Regions from separate parts of the Homo sapiens genome. Here regions 2 and 3 are each linked to region 1. The links are contacts of gene promoters, found by promoter capture Hi-C in blood cells and fetal thymus (Javierre and others, 2016). All regions are on one chromosome and are shown on one strand. Each heading gives the region's core, a stretch centred on a gene start or on the middle of the fragment in contact. The rest is flanking DNA. Distances are from core to core; before and after follow the strand shown. Region 1 holds the start of FCRL1 (Fc receptor like 1). Region 2 overlaps FCRL4 (Fc receptor like 4). Region 3 holds the start of FCRL4 (Fc receptor like 4).

Region 1 (4,996 bases), core at 1,885-4,384:
AAATAGGAAAATAACAGGAAGAGACATTTCAAGGAAGAAAATATACAAAGGGCTAATAAACACATGAGAAATGTTTAGCTTCATTGGCCGCCAAGAAATGCAAATTAAACTCATAAGATATCTCTACACATGCATTGAATTGGCTTTAAAAAAGGAGTTGGAGAGGATATGGAGAAACTGGAATTCAGACTGCTGGTGGGAATGTAAAATAGTAAAAATCAAGTAGGGAAGTAATTTAAGTTTCCTGAAAACATAAGCATATTCTCATTCAATAATTCCACCCTGGAATAGTCACCCAAAATTTTGTACATGAATGTTTATAGCAGCTTTATTCATACTACATGGATGAATCTCAAAAATATTATGCAAAAGGAAAGAACTTAGAAACAAAAGAGTAAATATTATATGTTTCAATTTGTAGGAAATTCTAGAAAAGGCAAATCAAATCTATAGAAAGCAGATGGAGAGTTACCTGGTTCTGGGAGGTTTGGGGTGACTGGGAAGGCACACAAGGAAACCCATTGAGATGATGGAAATGTTCTAGATCATGACAGTGATTGCTTTTACATCAGTGTGTATGTTTGTCAAAAATCATTGAATCATATACTTATGATGGGTTCATTTCAATGTATATTAATTATAACTCGATAAGCTGATTTTTAAGAAAGAGAACTATAAACAAAATATTCAGAGTGGTAATTACTTCTGGAGAGTACACGAGGAGTGGGTTAGAAAAGGCACACTCAAGTAGATGTAATAGTATCATGTTATGTTCAAGTTCTTTTTTTTTTTTTTTTTTTTTTTTTTTTTTTTTGAGACGGAGTCTCGCTCTGTCACCCAGGCTGGAGTGCAGTGGCGCGATCTCGGCTCACTGCAAGCTCCGCCTCCCGGGTTCACGCCATTCTCCTGCCTCAGCCTCCCGCGCAGCTGGGACTACAGGCGCCCGCCACCACGCCCGGCTAATTTTTTGTGTTTTTTAGTAGAGACGGGGTTTCACTGTGTTAGCCAGGATGGTCTCGATCTCCTGACCTCGTGATCCGCCCGCCTTATGTTCAAGTTCTTAAAACAGTCTGGGGATAGGCTCATGGCTTTTCATTTCATCGTAGTATTTCATAATTTATATTCATGTTACTTTTTTGTATGCATGCATGAACTATCACATTATAAAAATAAAAGTGTGAGAGAGCTTAACAAATAAAATGTTATAGCCTTTATATCTGTGGAGGAGGAAACACATTTTAATCTGAACATCTTGTGAAGGCACTGGAGCAGGACACACAGGAAGAGATGTGATGAGAATCAACCTAAGACCCCAACAACAGATGAATCCATAAAGAAAATGTGGTGTATATATACAACGGAATACCATTCAGCCATACAAAATGAAATCCTGTCATTTGTGACAACATGATGAAGCTGGAGGACATCATGTTAAGTGAACCAAGCCAGACACAGAAAGACAAATACCACATGAACTTACTTATATGTGGAATCTGAAAAAAATAAGAAGTTGATATTATGGAAGTATAGCATAGAATAGCATCTATCAGAGACTGAGGAGGGAATGAGGAGGGAAGAGAGGGAAAGATTGGTCAACAGGTACAAGGTGCCAATTCGATAGGAGGAATAAGGTTTGGTGTTTTATTGCACAGTAGGGTAACTATGGTTACTAGTAAGGTATTATATATTACAAAATAGCTAGGAAAGAGGCTTTTGAATGTTCTCACCACATAGAAATGAAAACTGCACGAGACAATGGATATGCCAACCACCCTGATTTGATCATCACTGTACAACATATATATGTATTATATTGCAATGTCAAACTGTGCCCCATAAATATGTACAATTACAATGTGTCAATTAAAACATTAAAAAAACCAACAGATTAAAAGAAAAAGAGAGAGATGAAACAGCAGAGTGTATGCAAAAACAGCTTTACACCCTGGATTTAAAGGGCTCTACATTCTCATTCAGGAGATTTTTTTGCATTGGTCCTGAAACTTTACACTAAACAAGCTTATCCCCACACAGGCTTTCCTAAGCCAATAAATAAAGCTATGGAATACCTATTCGTTTTCAGCACTTTCGCTGTTAGCCTGGTTACCAACATTGCTCCCTTTTCCCTCTGGTTTTGCGTATCACTGAATAGTTTCTTTTCTCAGTCATACTCATTGAGCTGGATACCTGGACTTAGACATCATTGCCTGACAGCATCTTTCCCCTAATAGGTTACTTTCCACACATTCTAGTTATTCTTAATCCTAGACACTCACGGATTTAAGAAATGTTGAAAATTAAGATAGCTTATTCTCCTCCAATCCCTAATCTAGGCTTCACTTGCCTAGAACTGGTATCCCTAATGTGCTAAAGGTAGCAATGGGAGAGATTATAGGTGCCCTGATTTTGAGGGAAAAGAGGGGCAATTTTACAAATGCCAGAGTTAGTACTAATGGTGAACCCTTCTCAAGTGCCCTGAAGCTAATTTGCATATACTTCTTTTCTGTATTTCATTTTCAAATATCCCCCAGATTGTAATTTGCCGTGATTTTATTTTTCAGTGATTTCATGCTCATTTACTGGTACACTGAAAGTTTGAATATCAAAGCGTATATCTGTATGAATAGGTTGACCCTGTACATAAGTCATCATATGCAGCAAGGGTCAGACACTACACATAACCGGGGTGACAGCCCCATCAGTCCCTGATTTAATGACATGTTTGCATAATATGACTATACTAGAGAAAGTTTGCATAGTGGGACTATATTGCTGAGCAAGAAGAATGTGCCAATTAGAAACAATCCAGGAGACATCCCTATCAAAGGTGAAAAGTATTGTAGATGTATCAAAGATGAATTTCAGCAGGACCATAACCTGATGAGACTCATCAAAGTAGGAAACTGCCTTTAGAAAACTTCCTTTGAAATACCTGAATTCTTGAAAAAGTCCCTCAAATATTGATGTGTACTATCTGCAGCTTGTGGAACTGAATCAAACTATATTTAAAAAGGAGCATCTTTAATTTTCTCAGACTTCATAGAAAAGGAAATGGAGACTGGTCACTAGAGGGTTCTTCTTCCTTCTACTTCTGCTGAAGGGTAACTTCCGATATCAACTTCCTCAAACCTCTGATGAGCTGCTGCTGCTCGACTCTGAGGTGCATTCTTTTTTTGATGAGAGGCATCTCTAGGTACCATCCCTGACCTGGTCCTCATGCTGCCGAGGCTGTTGCTGTTGATCTGTGGTGAGTTGGGCAACTCAGAGCAGGGCATGGGATGCAATCATGCTTGGGCTCTGCTTCCTGAAGGGCTGTAAGGACTTCTTAGGACTAAGGTTCTGTCAGGTAATGCTCAGGGGTGCTCAGATCTCCACTTCCACGGAGGGCTCAGAGTCAGGCAAAAAGTTGTAGATATTTCAAAAAGCCAGAGTTTTCAAGAAAACTATCATTTCAGTTTTTATCTCATAGGAAGTGTTCACTGTCTGTCTTCCTTTCCATCAATAATTGTCTTTGTTCTCAGTGTTTTCAACAGCTGCCAAAAGAAAAATCTGTATAATAAATAGGCCTCTGAATTCCTTGCCCTTCTTACTACCAACGTTATTTCCTTTTATCCCTCTCTGACTCCCCATTCCCACAGTCAAACCTTAGAACTTATCATCACTCCTTTGTTTTCAGCATACATCCCCCACCCCCACTAAGTTGTGTTTCTAGCTCACTTTCTCCTGCACTCTATTTCCAACATGACTTCAATTACCCCAGGGCTACTTTTCCATTATCAGTAACTACACTTCATGTGCTCACTTCTCATGGTGCTCAGCTCAGATTCTGCAGCTCACCACCACAACACTCCCTCGAGCACACCTTCATCTCTCTTCCCCCATAGCACTCTCCTGGTTTACACGCCCTTCTGCATGCTTCACTCCTGGACATAAACAGCTGAATGGGATTTTTTTTTAAATGCACAACCCTGATGACTTATCCCCTTTTAAGTGTAGGACCCCCAAATCTCAGGTAGCCAACAGCAATGCCAGGCAATTATCCTACATGTTCACAGTCCATGTTGCTCCATTATCACTATTGCATACCTTATCCTGTCACCTCATACTTCTCTGTTCACTCTCATTGTGTAATCTTGCTTCATATTTCATTGAGAAAATAAAAGCAGTCAGAAGAAAACTCTCTCATCTTTCTGTTGCTGTTGACCTACTCACCTCTGCATTCACATACACTGCCTTCTCTTCCCCTACCACGAATATATTGCCCCTCATCTTGTTGATGACAAGACTCTCCACTTGTGCATTAGGCCCATGACCCTCTTACTTTCTCAAAAAGTTTGCTCCATCATCAATATGTTTCTTCATTCTAAATTATTCCCATAAGTATACAAACATGCTACAGTATCTTTTATTAAAAACAGCTTTATTGAAATATTATTCACATATAATACAATTCACCATTTAAGTTATGCAATCCAATGGTTTTTTATGACAATCACTGAGTGGTGCAACTATCACCACAATCAATTTCAGAATGTTTTCATCACCCAAGAAAGAACGCCATACCCACTAGCAGGCATCCCCAATTTTTTTTCCAACGCCTCACCTATCCTCACCCCTCTATTTTCTGGCCACATGCAATCATTATCTACTTTCTGTCTCTCTATATTTGTCTATTCTGGACACACACCCCATATCTAACTGTAATTATATATCCCTTGAGCAACATTTCCCTCATTCCTCCTTCCCCACTATTACCCAAGCTTCTTGTAACCATGATTCTGCACCGTCCTTCTATGAGATCAACGTTTTCAGATTCCACATGAGTGAGATAATGCAGTACTTGTCATCCTGTGCCTACCTCATTTCATTTAACATAATATCCTTCAGGCTCACCCATGTTGTTGTAAATGATAGGATTTCATTATTTTTTATGTCTGAATAGTATTCCATCATGTATGTATATTGCATTTTCTTTATCCATTAATTTTTTGATGAA
Region 2 (4,996 bases), core at 801-3,300, 240 kb after region 1:
TCCTTCTGTCCCCTCAGGGGCTTTTCTGGGTCTGGCTTTTCAGGGGCTTTTCTGAGCAGGCTTGAGCCTGCCATCTGGTGCTCCAGTGGCCCCTCTCTCCTCAGGTCAGCCTCCCCTGCCTCTTGGAGATGGTCTGTCCCAGGCACTGTTTGCTGCGTGCTTCCAAAGACTTCTTGCCTCAGCCCACCTCAGGCTGGCTTTAGATGCCAAGAAACCTGGTGTAGAAGACAGGAGCAGAACCTTTTTCAGCTCTAGAATAATTACCCACATCCTTCAACTCTGTCTCTTAATTCAATTCAACTTTCCAGATTCCTGACAGCACCTTCTGTGTGTCCTGCATTGAACTGGAGGTAGGGAGCTTTGGACCTCTGACCAATTCTCCTTAGTGGGGCTGAGTCAGAGCCCAGTGCTCCTCTGGGCATGGCCACAGATGTTCCTCGAAGTTCACCCACAGCTCACTACTCTCCAAGTGACACTTTTGTTATATGTAATGTTTCCTGAGGGATTTCAACACAGACTTGAGTCTTAATAAATTCTCAGACAATTACATACTTAACTCAGGAGTGTGCAGTCCTGGCCTCAAAAAGTTATATGCTTTGTACAATCTTTTTTTCACCTCATTTTCATGAAAACCCAGGACTGGGCAGGTGTTTGAATTGACTGTCTTGATTACCTCTCTTAGATAGCTCCTGTTACATGAAGTCATTGAGAAAGAGCTCCCTCTGCTGACAAAAATGCGTCTTTGCTTTATTTTGCAGGAGTTGGTTTCTTGGGAGACGAAACCAGGTGAGACCTCAGTTTCTGCCATTCCTTTTTAGTTTCCCGAGTACACAATATGCAAAACTGTGGGGTTATGAAATTAGGTCAAGTTATACCTCTTTGGCCCTGTGGCTAGATACTTCCATTTTCACACTCCATGAATTTGTCAAAAATGAAGCTTCCTAGAACTTTGCTTGTCAGCTAATAGTTTGCAATACATGCAAAATAATAGATTTCTTATTTGATCTTAACCTACTCATCTAAATGGATAATACCAAAGGTTATAAAGTACAGAATATTTCTTGTACTATAATTAAGTTAGACAATGTGTTACTATAATTATGCATACAATGACTAGAGTCTAGATTTTCTACAAATGTTCTAGGTTTTCCAGAGAACTCTATGTTTCTAATAATCTTCTTTTTGCACCATACACGCATATATACTCATTAAACGTTATGTGCTTAACTTCCATTTGGAAAATACTGTCATCTTCCTCCTTCTATGTCAGTGTCTCAGTCTTAGGTAAGGAATAAGAGTGTGGATTATGTCTAATTCCTTCTTGGATTGTACAGACATTACAATGTAAAGACATTTTATGTATGTATGTATGTATGTATGTATGTATGTATGTATGTATGTATGTATTGTCACCCAGGCTGGAGTGCAGTGGCACGATCTTAGCTCATGGCAACCTCCGCCTCCCAGGTTCAAGTGAGTCTTGTGCCTCAGCTTCCAAAGTAGCTGGGATTACAGGCATGAGCCACCACATCTAGCTAATTTTTGTATTTTTAGTAGAGACCAGGTTTCACAATGTTGGCTGGGCTGGTCTCAAACTCCTGGCTTCAAGTGATCTGCCCGCCTCGGCCTCCCAAAGTGCTGGGATTACAGGTGTGAGCCACTGCACCAGGCCAACAGTAAAGTAAAGACATTTAATCACTACTTCCTGATGATGAAGAAGCCATTATGTATATATTTGAGACAGGATCTGGCTCTGTCACCCAGGCTGGAGTGCAATGGCATCATCTCAGTTTCCTGCAGTCTTGACCTGCCAGGCTTAAGCAATCCTCCCACCTCAGCCTCCCAAGTATCTAGGACTACAGGTGCATGTCACCATGCCTGGCCAACTTTATTTTATTCTGTGTAGAGACAAGGTCTCACTATGTTGCCCAGGCTGGAAAGCCAGTATTTTTTAACCAAACAAGAGTAATCATTCTGACTATGAGACGATGATTGTTACGATGATGTCAGAGACTCCCTAACCTTGTTTCCAGGCAGCCTGTCCATACCACAGCTCCAGGGTTTTTTTAAAAAGAACAGTCTCACTCTATATAGACCTATTGAAACTCTGATTAAACCATTCAGGCTTTCCAGTTCCCTACTGGCTGCTGACTTTCTCCAAATCCTCTTTCTCCTCTGCCGCTCTCCCTGGGTATCTCACTCTCCCGCATGTTACAGTGTTCCAGGGATTATTATGTGTTTCTGTGTCTCACAGGCTCCCTCCCGCTCCAGGCCCAGGAGAGTCCTCCCATTCCATCTGCCCTGCCCAGGTGGAGCTTCAGTCGTTGTATGTTGATGGTGAGGATTCCCTTCTAGGAAGCTGTTCCTGGCCTCAGCCATGGAAAGATAATGCGCTTTCAGCCCTGGGAAATGCCCCTGGACTCCCTAAAGTGTCCCAAATCCAGATATTCCCAGATAATTGTTCCATTATGTGTCCAAGAAGAGTGGAGATGATGCTTAGGAAGAGGCATCTGTAGCACTTTAATACTAACAGGAACAGCCTTGAAAATGTCTTTTCTTTCCAGTACACCCCAAAAAGGGAGATTTGGTATACTCTGAGATCCAGACTACTCAGCTGGGAGAAGAAGAGGAAGGTACGTCTTTGGGAAGAGATTCTGGCTGCAAACTATATTCATTCATTCAACAAATATTTACTGAGCACCTCCTATGTGCTAGGTATTCTTGTAAGTATGGGAAGTCAATCAGTAAACAAGGCAGACAAAAATCCCTGCAGTGGAGAGCTTAGATTCTAAGGAGGGAAGATAGGCACTGAAATACACACAGTATACTTTTGCTGATGATCAGGATGAAAATTAAGCATCCTTCTGATAGATATTGTGATCATTATAGTGTATGTACTAAGGTCTCCCTTAGGTCTGAATGAATAAATGTTTGTAAAATGTCTACTATGTGGTAAGCATTGTGCTGAGAATATATATACATATATATATGTATACATACACATATATGTATATGCATGGCATTTTAATTAAGTGCTAGAAAATGTGATTTTTACAGTATTATATTCCTCTAATTACTGTCAGATTTTAAATTTTATATTGGAGCAAGGTAAGTTATTTGGAATGAGTTGGATCCTTTTGAGGCTTGCTTTTATTTAAGCTTTGTTAGGGTAAGTCTCGAGCAACCTTTAGAGTAGGGTTAATCTAGCCTGATAGTAAAGCAATGCATTTCTGGGGACTCTACATCAGATGGTCCATTAATTACAAAATCTGCATCAGCTTCTGGTATTATTCTGCCTGTTCTTTTCTGGTAGTTCTTACCCCGGCCTAAGATACTTTCATCTTACAAATATGCCTATCAGTATTCAGCCTAAGACCTGAGGAGAACTCTCTGCAGACTTCTGGAGCTTTCGATCTGTTTTCCTCCTGTCTCTCTGGTACTGTCCTACAAATTCTAGCTGCTTCAGTAAAACAGAACTGTTGGTCTCTGTCACTTCAAGTCAGCAAGGCCTCAAGCCAGAAGCCAGGCTCTTTCTAAACTCCCAAGTCCATGCACAGCTTAGTGGTAAACTGGTGCAATATCTGAAAACCACTGTTTTGTCCTTTTTTCTCATTGTTTAAAATGGGAAGATAAATCCAGTCCCTGTTAGTCCGTTTTGGCCACAATAAGCTGAATTGTTTCTTGAAGTTCTACTTCACTTCTTTAATCCTATTCAGACCCCATTTCAAGACCCACTAACAAATTGAGATCTTTTGTTAGAAAAATACCTCTCTAGGTAACTGCAACCTATGGTCCACTTTGGCTTTCTGAGGTGGGAGCTCTATATCCCAGTATCAGGGAAATCACTTCAAAATCACTTCAGAAGTTCAAGAGGAATTTCTGAGATCTCCTTCACCAGGCTGGGGGCTATAACCTGCTACTCTCACCTCAGAAAGCTAAAGCAGAGACACATTGGACATAAACTGATCCATCTTTCTAAAGACATCGCTTCAACCAATCTTCTTATTTTTTTCCTCCCCACACTTCCTTGCTTTGGTTGATTAACCTGGGTTCTTAGAGTCAAGGAAACAAGCAATTCTCTCTATTTCTTGTATAAATCCACCCATGGCACCTCACTTGGGAAGTTAAAATCTAGGAATTTTAGTTGTAACCTGATGCTGAAGGTGTTCTATGAAAATGAAGTATTACACATAAGACTCAGAGAAGGACTTTCTCAAGGTCACAAAGCCAGTAAAGGACAAAGCTAAGACCAAGTCTTCTGTCTTGCTATATTTTCTGCATGCACAGCCTATTACTATATTTGACCAACATATATCACCTGATCACTTGTTTTGTCTTTCACTTTGTTCCCTGAGCCACCTCCATTAATCAGGATCCCCTTTGAATGGCAGCATTAGAATGGCCACTACCTTTCTTGGGTTGATTGAGTACATCTTATCTTATAAAGCTGTCTTGATAATTTTGCTTTTCTTCATACTCTTTCCTTGACATATTTATCAAAACACCATTTAAGCCAAGCATTCTGTTGATGGACTAGTTACATTTCAGACACTTGAATTATTAATGATTTGTAGAATGGTTTCTTCACCTGTTCCTTAAGGTTTACATGAAGCCCCTGAAATCATATGCAAAGTTTTGTACATATGACCATTATTCTGGGGAGAGTACATAGCTTCCATCATATTATTAAAAATATCTGTAACCCCTAAAGGTTTGGGGTAAGAATATGGTAACAATACAGTAAGAAACAGAGAGAAACCTCAAGTGCCCCAGAGTGTATCTGTTTTTCAGGCTCTCTCTCTCCATAAAATTGCTCTGCTGCTCTGATAATTCTACCTTTTACTCTGAGACTCTTAATTTCTAATATGCATGGTTCACCAAATCACATCTGCTAAACTTACCTCTCACTCTGGCTCCAACTCTAGGAAATCATGGCAATAAAAATCAAGAACTAGAACTTGTTAATGTAGGAGAGAGTTTTTCTCACAGGGCATGC
Region 3 (4,996 bases), core at 1,402-3,901, 220 kb after region 1:
GTACCAAAAAACGTCACTACGGATTTTTCCATTTTTTTCTTAATTTTTTTTTTAAGTTCTGGGATACATGAGCAGAGTGTGCAGGTTTGTTATGGGTAGGGAGAGCATTAGGTGTTTCTCAAAACACCAAACAGCATGTTGCCCAGTGTGAAAGAATCCAAATGGCAAAAATCAAAATTTAATAGAATTATTTAAATACCCACTCTGACTTCCTGACGTGAATCGCTTCTCAAGGCTAAAGCCATCATATTTTCAGAACTCTCTAGCCTCTTGTCTTTCAAGGAAATCACAACTTCTTCTCTCTGCCACCAGATACCAGGCATATGTATTTCAATCAATATATATTTGCCAAGACATTCCTGTAGCAAATTTTGGATTCTAGGACATTAAGTAAAAATGTTATGGCCTATTATCTAGGAAGAGCATGATGGGGCTATAATTTACTCCTCAGCTTGCCTTCTACTCAGATCAAAAGTTGTGGTTTCCCCCTGGACTGATGAGTCAGGATATTTTCATATATATCAGACAAGGTGAGAGTTGTCTTGTGATTGAGATGTTTCATCAGGTCTACAGACGGCCTGCTGGAGGTGTTCCAGTAGAGGTATCAGCGGTCAGAGGAGGCCTTTTCTGTGTTGAATGAGAAATTCTTCATCTCTGGGGATATTCAGGGACATCCTTAGATTATGTGGATTTCAATAGGCCTGCAATCTCACCTCATCTCTAGTAGCAGAGAGAATAGGTTGTGATTTCCTTGAAAGACAGAGCCTAGAGAGTTCTGAAACTAGAGTAGCTTTAGCCTTGAGAAGTGATTCACCCCAGGATGTCACAGCAGTACTTAATTCTATTAAATTTTGATTTTTGTGGTCTGGATTCTCTCACACTGGTCCACATTGCTGTTTGGTGTTTTCAGAAAGATTCCTCTACTTCCCCCTTTCACTTCATTATCTCAATCAGCTTTATGCAGAGAAGAAGCTTACTGAGCTCACTGCTGGTGCTGGTGTAGGCAAGTGCTGCTTTGGCAATCTGGGCTGACCTGGCTTGTCTCCTCAGAACTCCTTCTCCAATCCTGGAGCAGGCTTCCATGCTGCTGTGGGCGTCCTTGCTGGCCTTTGGTAAGTGATGGGGAGGAGACCTTTGCTTGCTGCAAAGCTGAGCCTCACCATGAGCAAAAGCCCTCTTTTCTGCTGCTGCAATCATGGATTTTTACTCCCATTTTAGAACAGCAGAAAATGAACAAAAAGGAAAGATAATGATTTACTGGTAGAAGGGGAAAATGATAATAATTGATTTCCAAAGATGTATTTCTCATCTATTTTTGCTATGAATTGCCTATGGAAAATCATTTTACCCCCAAATGGACTTATTTTGTTTATGCAAAAAGAAACCTATGGCTAGGTTCAGTCCCTACGTCACAGAGCATGAGGACCCAGAGGAAAAGATGGACTGAGTTATTTGTGAAGGATAAAGTCCTGATTGTGAACTCAGGTAGAAAGGATCACCTGCTGAGAATAGTTATTTCCTTCTCTGTATTCTAAGTTCAAACCTGTTCTGATGTTTGCAAAGAGCATGAGAAGAGAAGAGATAAGATGATTTCCCTTTGATTTTTTTCTTCCTGCTTTTGTACCACTTGTCAGTGTTTGTCCAAATGAGGCACGGATTTCCTAGTTGCTCAAACTAGGGAATTAAAGAACAGTCAGTCTTTTGTTCATTAAATATTTATTAAGCGTATTTGTCTAGTTCCCACCTGATCCCCAGACCCCAACTAAGGGAAGACCTATTAGTGTGATTGGCACATGATAGGAACTAAGGAGTGAGTGGATGGGTATACTTGGCATGCCACACTGCTGGGCACCACAGAGGATGCAGAGACCTGAAGGACACAGATTCTGCCCTCAAGAGGTGACATTCTCAATAGAACCTCAACGTACACATGCAAGAACATCTGACTCGACAATATGAGAAAAATATTACACAAATAGTTACAGGATAATGTGTGAGGATGTCAGTTAATTTGTGCTAAGCCCTGGCTACATCCCACTTTTCTAAGGGCACCCCATGTATAAATGTATCCAATTCTCTAACATTTGATCAGGTGGAACTTTTATAACTCCCATTTACAAATGAGGAAATGAAGGCACAAAGATGTTGGTCTTGTCCCTGAGGTTTATGCAGCTAGTACAGTGGCAGAGTCAGGATTCGAACCCATAATCTAACTTTGGAAACTAGGCTTTTAACTACTACCCTCTACTGTCTGTCTCATTTTGAGTTCCAAATTAGCTATGATAATAAGTGTTCTGAGTCAAGAGAAGAGGAATCAGCAGCAGCCCCATACTAAAAAATTAATGACAGCAGCCATTAATTGAAACCTTACTGATCTAACTCATTACAGTATTACTATGAGGTCGCTTTCATGAGCCTCATTTTTCAAATGAGAAAACTGAGACTTGAAAGTTCATGTGGTTTGCCCTGGGTCATACAGCTAAAATTCAAACCAGACTGTCTGAGTCCACAGCCTGAGCGTCTGGCCACTGTGTTTCCCCGCTTCCCTGGGATGGATGGAATGGAACGTGTTTCTCTTCCTCTTGGTTGGAAGTAGCATATGAGTGTATGGGCTCTCAGGGTGAATAGTTCGGGACTCTTCGCCTACGCTGATGGCTGGCTCTTTACTCTCTTTCAGCTCCAGTCTGTGGACAATCTGGTAAGTCCTTATTTTCTTTGCTCCTTTATGTCTCTAGATACCCTAATAACTATATTTTATCTCAAATACTTACAAGAGTCCCTGTTGTCCATTTCATCCTTTTCCTGAGTGCTGCAGGGATGTAGAGACATCAGCTCGTGTGGTGACTCTGACCCTAAGAACCAGGCTATTTGGGGGTGACTCTCTTAAACCAAAACTGCCATTGTGCTGGCTAAACATGGCAGGGCCTGGGATATGTGTCACAGCGTCCACAGGAAGAGGAGCTGTCACCCCGCCTGATGTGGGATTCTAGCCAAGCCTGATGGAATGCATAGCATCCCAAGAGGAAAAGGGTAGAAATAAGCCAATACTTCAGAGGGGGAGGCTGGGGCTCCAGCAGCTTTTCCACTAACCATGTGTAACAAATTTATCCCCAACTTCTGCATCCCATGGAGACACACTTCTCTGTTAATAGCTCAAATTATGATGACTCTGAGTCTCCATCTATCCTACTGGTCAGCAAAAAGTCCCATCCTCTATAGGCAGCTGCCTCACAGGTGTTTTGGCCATTCCTATAGAGCACCCTAGGAGCTGCTGGAGCCAGCAAGGGCCTTGGCCCCCTTGAGGTGCACTGTCTCTTGCAGCTCCTAACTCTGCTGTTCTTCCCCTCCTCGGTGCCTTGGACACAGACTATTTCCCACACACCCTTCCTGAGACAAGATTATAACTTGGCAGACTTTGCTAATGGTTCTAGAATGGGGAAATGAAATACAAAAAGTGCCTTGAATTAACTGCAGCTAGGGATGTGGTTAACCTCAGAGCCCATCAACTCAGTCTCAAACACACGAAGGCCATGAAAAGTTATGTCCCTTCCTGGCCATAGGGCCACCTGCACATAGCAGGGGCAGCTTCCTCAGAGCAAAGAAGAGTCTAGTTGCATACATCAAAGGAAATCAACTCTCCTTCCCTCCAGTAGAAGACCTATTGCCTAAGTCCCAATGGCCCTGCATCCAGGTGCTTCCCAGGAATATAGCTGGTAGGGTTTTCTATTCTCTTCAGCAGAAACACAGCCCCATTCCCACTGATGACATAGAGTATTCTGTCCAAACCTTTAAAGACAGAATTTTCTTTTTAAAAAGTGTCTGCAGAGGCTGGGCACAGTGGCTCATGCCTGTAATCCCAGCACTTCGGGAGGCTGAGGTGGGTGGATCACTTGACGTCAGGAGCTCAAGACCAGCCTGGACAACATGGTGAAACCTCATCTCTACTGAAAATACAAAAAATTAGCCGGTTGTGGTGGCACATGCCTGTAATCCCAGTTACTCAGGAGGCTGGGGCAGGAGAATCACTTGAACCCAGGAGGTGGAGGTTGCAATGAGCTGAGATCAGGCCACTGCAGTCCAGCCTGGGCAAGAGTAAGACTCTATCTGAAAAATAAAATAAAATAAATTCTGCAGAGACACAGAGATGTTTCACCTTACCAAACAGAACATTTAGCTTCTTCATGTAAAACATGCAGTTGGGTTATTTTACAATTTTCTTTTTCCCCTCAAACAGAGGAAGGGCATTTTCTTCACATTTAGATGTAACTAAAAGATCTATTTGGGAAGTTCTTCTGGGCAAAGGCAAGAATGTTTAAAGTTTTAAGCTTTAAAAAAGTAATTGCCTGAAAATCTTTAAATGTAGACAGTCCTCATCTGAGTAAAAAAGGTTCCAAGGAGAAAATAATTTATTCTATTAAAAATTTCATAGTAAATAGCAATCCCCAAAATTGAGATTTTATTTTTGAAAATTAATACAAATGAAAACAATTTGTTTTATTTTCTACTTCACAGAAGTTACATTACCACAGGCAATTTGTAGGGCAAAGCATGAATCTAATATTGACTTTTCAAAATGTGGTAGCTGCCACAGCTCCAGGCATCATGACTTTGTTCAAGGCAGAAAATGGGGAGAAGTAGGGAGACAGGTGGAGAAGGGAAGTGAAGCTGTCAAAGAGCACCCAGTGTGCATCTCTTCTTTCAAATAAAGGAAGAAGATTTTCCCAGAATCCCTATTCCCTAGTCCATCCCTAGCATTATTTCTCTGACATCCCTTTATTCAGACCTGGATCATGTAGGTGGGAAAGTTAATACTTCATTTTTTCAAACACATTAGTGGGCAGAAGGTTAGAGAGAAGAGCATTGGGACTGACTTTTGAGAGCCAAACAAGTGTTTTCCCTATTATAGATTTCTCCTTCATAATCGTTAATAGGTCTTGCTCTGCCATACTCTTTAGTGATTTTATGACTCATCAGAGCAGTGGTTCCACATAACTTT

Evidence for each region. The method cuts DNA at HindIII sites, captures the fragments that hold promoters and counts their contacts. A CHiCAGO score of 5 or more calls a contact.
Region 2: a contact is called between a fragment that was not itself captured here and the fragment with the promoter of FCRL1 in region 1, in 5 of 17 cell types (total B cells, naive B cells, M0 macrophages and 2 more). The highest score is 16.7, in total B cells.
Region 3: a contact is called between a fragment that was not itself captured here and the fragment with the promoter of FCRL1 in region 1, in 2 of 17 cell types (naive B cells and total B cells). The highest score is 6.4, in naive B cells.

What each region holds. Positions count from the first base shown.
Region 1 is chr1:157,818,258-157,823,253 of GRCh38, reverse strand. FCRL1 (Fc receptor like 1) reads left to right here and starts at 3,134. Exons shown (of 11, transcript NM_052938.5): 1 at 3,134-3,247. The coding sequence starts at 3,217. The HindIII fragment of the contact is 2,741 bases long and covers 2,022-4,762 here.
Region 2 is chr1:157,576,111-157,581,106 of GRCh38, reverse strand. It overlaps FCRL4 (Fc receptor like 4), which reads left to right. Exons shown (of 12, transcript NM_031282.3): 8 at 759-786; 9 at 2,255-2,337; 10 at 2,565-2,633. Among named protein-coding and RNA genes, the nearest start is that of FCRL4, 19 kb to the left of the region's middle. The HindIII fragment of the contact is 2,222 bases long and covers 940-3,161 here.
Region 3 is chr1:157,594,030-157,599,025 of GRCh38, reverse strand. FCRL4 (Fc receptor like 4) reads left to right here and starts at 941. Exons shown (of 12, transcript NM_031282.3): 1 at 941-1,112; 2 at 2,678-2,698. The coding sequence starts at 1,082. The HindIII fragment of the contact is 3,353 bases long and covers 975-4,327 here.